2 separate regions of the Homo sapiens genome follow, and region 2 is linked to region 1. Evidence: promoter capture Hi-C in human tissues and cell types (Jung and others, 2019). All regions are on one chromosome and are shown on one strand. Each heading gives the region's core, a stretch centred on a gene start or on the middle of the fragment in contact. The rest is flanking DNA. Distances are from core to core; before and after follow the strand shown. Region 1 holds the start of MTHFD1 (methylenetetrahydrofolate dehydrogenase, cyclohydrolase and formyltetrahydrofolate synthetase 1). Region 2 overlaps PLEKHG3 (pleckstrin homology and RhoGEF domain containing G3).

Evidence for each region. The method cuts DNA at HindIII sites, captures the fragments that hold promoters and counts their contacts. A contact is called where the count stands out against the background at its distance.
Region 2: a contact is called between a fragment that was not itself captured here and the fragment with the promoter of MTHFD1 in region 1, in 1 of the 25 tissues and cell types used here (dorsolateral prefrontal cortex).

What each region holds. Positions count from the first base shown.
Region 1 is chr14:64,386,690-64,391,077 of GRCh38, forward strand. MTHFD1 (methylenetetrahydrofolate dehydrogenase, cyclohydrolase and formyltetrahydrofolate synthetase 1) reads left to right here and starts at 1,664. Exons shown (of 28, transcript NM_005956.4): 1 at 1,664-1,779. The coding sequence starts at 1,739. RefSeq lists enhancers at 727-826, 847-906, 1,427-1,516. The HindIII fragment of the contact is 7,460 bases long and covers 1-4,388 here.
Region 2 is chr14:64,707,549-64,712,660 of GRCh38, forward strand. All of the region lies in intron 1 of PLEKHG3 (pleckstrin homology and RhoGEF domain containing G3), which reads left to right. Among named protein-coding and RNA genes, the nearest start is that of PLEKHG3, 5.7 kb to the left of the region's middle. RefSeq lists an enhancer at 890-1,391. The HindIII fragment of the contact is 5,509 bases long and covers 1-4,656 here.

The sequences.
Region 1 (4,388 bases), core at 414-2,913:
AGCGACATAGCGAGACTCCGTCTCAAAAACAAAAAAACATATATTAGAAATAATTACCAGAAATAGAAAATCACAAGAGATTATCTAATCCCGTATATGGGGCTACTATAAATAACCTCAGAATTTAGAAATAAGAAAAAAATATTAAAAGCCCCAAAATTAATAAAAAATCAGTTTTAGGCCAGGTGCGGTGGCTCACGCCTGTAATCCCAGCACTCTGGGAGGCCGAGGCGGGTGGATCACGAGGTCAGGAGTTCAAGACCAGCCTAGCCAAGATGGTGAAACCCCGTCTCTACTAAAAATACAAAAATTAGCCGGGCGTGGTGGCGGGCTAATTAGGTGGTGCCTGTAATCCCAGCTACTCGGGAGGCTGAGGCAGAGAACTGCTTGAACCCGGGAAGCGGAGGTTGCAGTGAGCCAAAATCGTGCCACTGCACTCCAGCCTGGGCGACAGAATGAGACTCCGTCTCAAACAAACAAACAAAAAAAGTTTTAGATGAGCTCTGCCAGTAGTAAACGGCTTGTAAAAGAAACCCGGTATCTGGTCAAGTCCTAAGTGACCTGAACCACGCATCTTCAGGACTCTACTGGGATGACTGTAACCTGAACGCGGTTCCTAGAGCAGAGCAAGCATATTCCTTGGACTCAGTAACACAAGGGGCCAGTCCTCTCCAGCATCCCAGCTGCCACCGCCCTGTCAGGCTCCCCAGGCAATTGTCCATCTTACTCCTTCTCCAGCGTGGACGCTTAAGGGGAGGGAGCATCCCTCCTCGAGGGTCAACTGGCATGTAGCTTACGAAGACCGCGTGAGTTCTCCAACCCCAGACTTGCTGCGGGGCGGGGACGTGGGGGTGACAAAATCCAGACTACGACCCTCCATGAGCCCTGGCAACCCCGGGGTGACCCCAACACCGATGAGGCCACGCGCGCTCCAGCTCTGACACTCCTTCCAGATCGGCGGGGCCTGAAACAGCGGGCTAAGCTTCACCTACGGCTGAGCGTCAGATTCAGCTGAGGAGATTCTAAAAGCGCTATGCTGGGCCCAGACCCAGGCCCTCCAGAGCAGAACGCGGAGGGGCCCGACCCCAGTCTGGTGGCGTAGGTGTGTGACAAAGTATGAGGGCGCGCCAAGCTCTCCAGTTCCACATCTGCTGTCGAGTCCAGCGCCTGCCACGCTCCCGTGCGGGGACCCGCCCAAAACTCCCTGGAAGCCAGGCGATTCAGACCCCGCCACCGCGTCCCCAGAGACTGGGCGGAAACCGGAGACTCGCCTCCCGAACCCGCGAAACTATCTCCCGCGAGACTGCCCCGCCCCAACCCCGCCCCGCAACTCTACTCCCTGATTGGCTGGAATTACGGCCGGATTCCGGAGTCCTTTCCAGCTCCCTCTTCGGCCGGGTTTCCCGCCGAATACAAAGGCGCACTGTGAACTGGCTCTTTCTTTCCGCCAATCATTTCCGCCAGCCATTCATCACCGATTTTCTTCATCTTCCCCTCCCTCTTCCGTCCCGCAGTCCCCGACCTGTTAGCTCTCGGTTAGTTAAGGGACTCGGGTCCTTCCGAACTGCGCATGCGCCACCGCGTCTGCAGGGGGAGAAGCGGGCAGGGGCGCAGGCGCAGTAGTGTGATCCCCTGGCCAGTCCCTAAGCACGTGGGTTGGGTTGTCCTGCTTGGCTGCGGAGGGAGTGGAACCTCGATATTGGTGGTGTCCATCGTGGGCAGCGGACTAATAAAGGCCATGGCGCCAGCAGAAATCCTGAACGGGAAGGAGATCTCCGCGTAAGCACCTGACATTGTTGTTGAGTGTGGGGCTGTGGACGAGGGCTCTGAGGGTGTGCAGGTCCCCCGGACCCATTTTTTGCGGGAGGGACACTTGTAGCGGAAGAGTTAGGCCCATAACACCTGAAGACCTGCAGCCAAAGAAAGAGAACCCGGGCACAACCTGCGTTTGCAAGTGGACTGCCTAGTGGCTGTAGCCGCTGGCTCCTGTGCTTCGGGGAAAAGTCCTGTGCCGACTATGCTCCCAAACGCGCAGCTGCTGGTGACTTTCTGCCGGGAGAGTGGGTAGTTGCGGCTTCCTGGAGCCCCCCTAGTCAGAACTCAGAAATCCAATCTACTTAATTCCCGTTAATTTGGAGGTGAGTAGATGGAGACTAGTGAGGTGACAAGGCTTGACAAGACTACAAGGCTGATAATGACAGAGGGTCCTTCCAGCTCATAGCTTTTCCCACTATACCATAGTCTTATCATACGCTAAGTGAAATCTAATACATTTTTCCTTTCTCTTCAATCTCGTGCTTCTCTCTAACAGCCATCTCTCTGCCCTGGTCCTAGAGTTACTTGAAACGTAATTTGGCTCCTGAGTCCTGAGAATATTCTGCATTCCACTTGACCTCTGCCTGTTCTACCCTTGCGGGACATCTGAATGCTTAATTAGTGGGTATCGTTGCCAGCTTTACTCCCAGGAAGTAACACTGGCTGCTTTTTGTCTGGGAGGTGACTGGTGAGGAAAAATGAGAGTAGAAGGAAGAGGGAAAAATATATTCCCTCTAGTAGATGAAGGAGGGAAAGATATATTCTGTGTGACCTTACTGAGTTTGCTCTTGGGACCTTTCACATCACCCGTTATGTAAGTAACTGTTGCCAGCCACAGCAGTTACTAAATTGTAATTGTCCTGTAACTCCTAACTTTGTAATAGGTTTTTGAGTGAATTACAAAGTCATCGGTGGTGAAAAGTCCGGGCCCAGTGGCTCATGCCTGTAATCCCAGCACTTTGGGAGGCCGAGGTGGGTGGATCACCTGAGGTCTGGAGTTCAAGACCAGCCTATCCAAAATGGTGAAACCCCATCTCTACTAAAAATACAAAAAATTAGCCGAGTGTGGTGGCAGGCATCTGTAATCCCAGCTACTTGGGAGGCTGAGGCAGGAGAATCACTTGAACCTGGGGGGCAGAGGTTGCAGTGAGCTGAGATGCGCCATTGCACTCCAGCCTGGGCAACAAGAGCGAAACTCCGTCTAAGAAAAAAAAAAAAAGAAATCACAATACTTACTGCTTAGTGCTTTTCAACATGTGGCTTGCTAAACTGTATTTCTGCTTTACTTTCTGTTTTTGTTTGCTTGTATTCAAACTTACTTCCTTTTCCAGTGGCTTTTTGTTTTAATATAAAAATCTTCCTTTTAGAAAGACTGATTGTGAAGAGATAATTTAGTGCATAATAATAGTGCAGATAATTTAGTACAATAATAATGCATCTGGGCCAGTACTGAGAATAGGTGCTCACTGAATATACTTTCGTTAATTGGAGAGCAAATTAAATATGTTTATCAACTCCATAAGGGCAAATACATGTATTGTCTTATTTTTGTCTATATCCTAAACACCTGGAAACCCTGTTTCCTGCCTTACTACTTGTGTGGTTTTAAGCAAATTAATTAACCTTTCTGTGCCAAAGTTTCCTCAAATGTTAAGTAAAAGTAATGTCTAGGTCATTGGGATGTTAGTAGAATTAAATGGGTTCCTAACAGATGATCATTTATAATTCTTCCTGGCACATAATAAGTATTCGATATATGTTGTATTAATAATCAGTAATTAGTTAATGTATATATGAATGATTCATTATCTTTTTTTTTTTTTACATGGTAGCTGCTGCCTTGAGATCTATTTTTTTTTTTGAGATGAAGTCTTGCTGTGTCCAATCTTGGCTCACTGCAACCTCTGCCTCCTGCATACAAGCAATTCTCTCATATCAGCCTCCTGAGTACCTGGGATTACAGGTGCCCGCCATCACGCCTAGCTAATTTTTTTTTTTGAGATGGAGTTTCACTCGTCGCCCAGACTGGAGTACAATGGCGTGATCTCGGCTCACTGCAACCTCTGCCTCCTGGGTTCAAGCGATTCTCCTGCCTCAGCCTCCCAAGTAGCTGGGATTACAGGCGTCCGCCACCATGTCCAGCTAGTTTGTTTGTTTGTTTGAGACAGAGTTTCACTCTTGTTGCCCAGGCTGGAGTGCAATGGCATGATCTTGGCTCACTGCAACCTCCACCTCCCAGGTTCAAGCGATTCTCCTGCCTCAGCCTCCCGAGTAGCTGAGACTACAGGTGTGTGCCACCCCGTCCGGCTAATTTTTGTATTTTTAGTAGAGACGGGCTTTCACCATGTTGGTCAGGCTGGTCTGTAACTCCTGACCCCATGTGATCCACCCACCTCGGCCTCCCAAAGTGCTGGGATTACAGGCATGAGCCACTGCACCGGTCCTAGAATTTCTTAAAAATCCAGCCCACTTCCCACATTCCATCCTGCGGATTAGGAAATCATTTGAGGCCAGAAAAGTGATGTGATTTGTCCAAGGGTGAATGGCAATGGCTCAACTAAAACTAAGGTCTT
Region 2 (5,112 bases), core at 652-3,151, 320 kb after region 1:
TAGCAAGTGTGTTAGTGATAAACAGAAATAAAAAATATGATAGGGAAGGTAGGTGTGAATTGTCATGGAAGGGGTGAGGTGACAGTTTAGATAGGGTGGCCAGGGAGGCTTCCAGGAGGAAGGTACTTTTGAGGTGATGCCTGAAGGCGGTATTTTTCTTCATCGCTGCCTTTTCTAACTTGAAGCCCAGTTCATCCCACTGTGGCATCGAGGAACAGAGTTTGGAGTTGGACACACCTTGGTTTCAAATCCCTGGCTTGACAGCTCACTAGCCCTGTGGACTTTGATGTGGTGCTAAATTCCTTTGAGCTGTGTTTCTTACCCAACGTGGAGTTAGTCATCATACTTACCACATGCGGCATCATGGCAATGTACAGTGAGATAACGTATGTTGAATGCTTAGCAAAGACTATAGAGAGGTTCGATAAACTATTTCTCCAACCAAATTCTGCAGGGGTAGCATGAGATATTTAATGTCATTGCTAAGGACTGTAGGTGCAAAGCTTTTCATTTTAGATATTGGGCAGGAGTGGGGAATTAGAGGGAGGGGAAAATAGAAAACCTTGGCAAAAACTTTCTGGTTAGGGAGGCTTTCCTGCCCTACCCTAGATTGCAGATGGCTGAGGACGTGGGACTCCCAGGTATGTCCTATGCCCACCCCCATCCTACAGATAGGATGACAGGGGCAGCCCTGACCACCCCCCTCTTGCTCTGGAATTCCCCCTGCTTCCAGCCAGACTCAATGAATCACACCTTCTCCCTGACCTCCCGACTCTGCCTCACAGCTGGGAAGGCTGTCCACCCCTCCCCCAGCCTCCGGCAGGTAAATTATGCCTGGAGGTCGGAAGCGGAGTGGGGCGGGGACAAGGGGTAGGGAAAGTGAGGGAGGGGGCAGATGGTGGGTGGAGCTGTCCTAGGAAAGCCCAGAAGGGTGGCAGGAGGATTCTGGTGGAGGCTTCGAGATGGCTCGGAAGACTTTGAATAAGGGTTCGCCAGGGACCAGAATTTAAAGTAACAGAGTGACAGACACAATGAGAACTCAGGGTCGGCTGCCTAACTCCTAGCCGCTTCTACCCAGCTGATCTGCTGAGTCTCCGACCCTCTCTGCTGGAACCACGGGCCTACAAAGGGAGGGGTTTAATCTAAAGTACCGCTGTCAAAGTTTGTGGTGAGTGGCTTCCTGGAGACCCTGCCCTAGTTCAGGAAGTGAGAGATGGGCAGTGGAGGATGAGGCCTAGGGAAGTGGTCATGGCCAGTTCCACCCCCCCGCCCCACCCCCCAAGTATGTCGCTGCACACTCGGCAGCCAGGCAGGCCCTGTGATGAAGGAACTTCCTGGGACTGCCAGTTGGTGCCTGGAGACGGGTAAAAGCTAGATGATCTGATATTAGAGGAAGTTGCAAAGAGGGCCCTGAACAGCCCCAAGCATGTTAGTGTTGGGTGACCTGAAGTCAGGAGAAAGAAAACTGGACAACGTGGACTAAACTGATCAGCAGGGGGCCCATCTAGAGCTGCTGGTAGCCCCTCTGTCTGTCAGCTGCCTGGGGATAAAGGTTGGCCATGCTAACTGGGTTGCTATCTGGGGACAGGAATGGTGCTGGACTCATCTTTGTGCCCAGACAGCATTGAGAATGGTACAAAGTGTGATCAACAGGGAGTGATGGGCTTCAGCCGTGGTCCCACCCTTAGAGTAATCTGGGCTTGTGGTCTCATTTGCTACAGCTTTTGTTCCATGGGATTAGGGAGAAGAAGGTAGTGTTAGGGTCGAGTCCAGCCCTAGGTGGGCTGTTGCCATCTGGGAATGCAAGCACTAGGGAGAAGAGGGCTTTATACAGTTCTGGCGGCTGGCCTTTGGGGAGGGAGCCCTACGTAAGCTCAAGGAATGGATTTTTAAGGACTTGCACTCTCTTTCATGCTGAGCAGACTTGGGCTGAACACAACCCAAATAGGGTTCTCGTGGGCACAGTGGTAGCTGTGCATGCAGCCTTTTGTGAAACACAGTTTGAGGGTCCTAGAAGTTGATCTGATTATTGCCAGAATCGGAGCTGGGACTGGAAGGGAAAGATGCAGGAGGAATGAAGTCGATTTTACCTTGGGAACAGGGTCCCAAAAGGAGAGATGGTTTCTACAGGTGCCGGAAGCTCTTAAAAACTCACATCCTTTACTTCCTAGGCTGTGAGACTGTGTGTGTGTGTGTGTGTGTGTGTGTGTGTGTGTGTAGTATTAGAAAGGAACCAGTATTCTCATATAGCTTCTATTCCTTCAGTTCATTGCTACATCCCCAGTGCCTGTTGTACAGTAGGATTCCAATAAGTATTTGTTGAATAAGTAAGTAAAACCCTACTGTGTGACGAGACCTTAGGAATTAAGGAAATGCTCACACTATGAATGTTCTGTTCCTGACAGAGAATGTCCATAAGATTCTAAGAAGTTAACCTGTAGTCAGCTGTTCTGACAGTGGGACAGGAAGCCCTGTATTCCTGCAGCATGTAAGAAGGAGACCTACAGTCATTGGGACCTGTCTTCCAAAGCTTGCTACACATTTTGCTCCCATGCAAGTTGGCCCCAAAGTGGACAGCAGGGTGTATTTATAGCGTTGGATATAGTTCTTCCCATAATGTGTTCCATAATATCCAATAACACCTCTCCTACCCTAAACTCTTATTTGGAACTCAGCCACCCAGCACCCTTGCTTATTTGCATGTAGCCAAGAAGGTCGAGGACTCAAGGTCCTACATTTTTCTTCATGCCAGTCTTCTCAGACCCTGTTTAACTTCTACATATAAGCTATGTCATGCTATGTTCAAGCTGGGAAGAAGCAGCAAATGAAAGAGGATAAAGGCCGGGCGCAGTGGCTCATGCCTGTAATCTCAACACTTTGAGAGGCTGATGCCGGTGGATCACCTGAGGTCGGGAGTTTGAGACCAGCTTGGCCAACATGGTGAAACCCCGTCTCTATTAAAGATAACAAAAATTAGCTGGGCATGGTGGCGGGCACCCGTAATCCCAGCTACTCGGGAGGCTGAGGCAGGAGAATCACTTGAACTCAGGATGTGGAGGTTGCAGTGGGCCGAGATTGCGCCATTGCACTCCAGCCTGGGCGACAAGAGCAGAACTCTGTCTCAAAAGAAATTAAAAAAATAAAATGAAAGAGGATAAAGAAACAAGCATAGAGGGGGAAAAATGACTACAGTGCAGAGTTGGCAGTGAGAGCAGACTGAGATAAAAACTCCAGGAAAAGCAAGTGCTAGCAGAAGTGCCGGGGATCTTTTTTTTTTTGGAGGGAGGGGGTGTGGAGGGAATGACTTGGCACACCTTGGGTGTCTGGGGATCATCAGTTTGATAATTTATGCTTTGCTGGTAATTGTGACCCAGAGTCATCAAGAAAAGGTTAAATTATGTTCCCTTGACTCTGTTTAGGAAGGCAGGGAAGTGTGTAACGGATTTTTAAAAGATTCCCAGTCAGGTTGGCTAAAATTTTAAGTGTTGATACTTAGGTAATAATATCACTAATCCTTTAAATAAGACCAAGTAGGTGGTTTACCCACTTCACCCACCCCAGATGAGGAAACCAAGTCCCCACGAGTTGGGTAACTTGCTCAGGATCGCTCAGCTAATACTTGGCAGGGATGGGGTTTGAACTTTTGGAGCCCGCTCTTAGCCCTACCCCACACTGTTTTGAAACTCTGCATGCTCTTGCAAATGCTGCTTTTTGGATGCCCTCTCTCTACAGAGGTTCCAGCTGGCCAAAGTTTGACTGTGTTACAGTAGAGCCTGGATGAGTCCAATCTTAATTCGGCTCCACCCAAGCAGATTGCCAGTTATCCCAAAGGGTGTTTGCCTCAGTTGAAACAAGAATGCTTTTTTTTTGTTTTTTTTTTTTTGAGACGGAGTCTCACTCTGTTGCCCAGGCTGGAGTGCAGTGGCATGATCTCGGCTCACTGCAAGCTCCGTCTCCCGTGTTCATGCCATTCTCCTGCCTCAGCCTCCCGAGTAGCTGGGACTACAGGCACCCACCACCACGTCTGGCTAATTTTTGTATTTTTAGTACAGACAGGGTTTCACCTTGTTAGCCAGGATGGTCTCGATCTCCTGACCTTGTGATGCGCCTGCCTTGGCCTCCCAAAGTGCTGGAATTACAGGTGTGAGCCATTGCGCCCGGCCAAGAGTTCTTTATATATTCTGGATACAAGTTCATTGTCAAGTATACGATTTACAGATATTTTTTCCCATTCTGTGATTTGTCTTTTCACTTTCTTGGTAGTGTGCTGTGAAACACAAAAGTTTAAAATTTTGATGATGAAGTACAATTTATTTTTTCTTTAGTTGCTAGTGCTTTTGGTGTTACACCTAAGAAACCATTGCTCACTCAGGTTCATAAAGATTTACTCCTATCTTTTCTTCTAAGAGTTTGATAGTTTTAGCTCTTACATTTAGGTCTGTGACCCATTTTGACTTTTTTGTATATGGTTTGAAATAGGTGTCCAGATTCATTCTTTTGCATGTGAAGATCTAGCACCTTTTGTTGAAAAGACTATTCTTTCTCTATTGAATTGTCTTGGCACCCTTGTTGAAAATCAGTTGCCAATAAATATGTTGTTTTATTTCTGTAATCTCAATTCTCTTTCATTGATCTATATGTCTGCCCTTACACCGGTACCATATAGTCTTGATAACTATAGCTTTGTAGTAAGTTTTGAAATCAGGTTGTATCAGCCCCCCAACTTGGTTCTTTTTCAAGGTTGTTTTGGGTATTCTGGGTCCCTTGCTTTTCCATATGAATTTTAGGATCAGCTTGTCAATATCTGCAAAAAAAAAATCAGCTATATTTTGATAGAGATTGTATTGCATCTTTAGATTGGTTTGTTGAGTATTGCCATATTAACAATGTTAAATGTTCCATTCCATGAACAAGGAATGTCTTTTAGGTCTTCTTTAATTTCTTTCAACAGTGTTTTGTGGTTTTCAGCATACAAGTCTTACACTTCTTTCGTTAAATATATTCCTAAGTATTTTATTCTTTTTGCTGCTATTATAAATGGGAGTCTTAATTCCATTTTATGATTGCTCATTGCTAGTGTACAGGAATAAAATAGATTTTTGTGTGTTGATC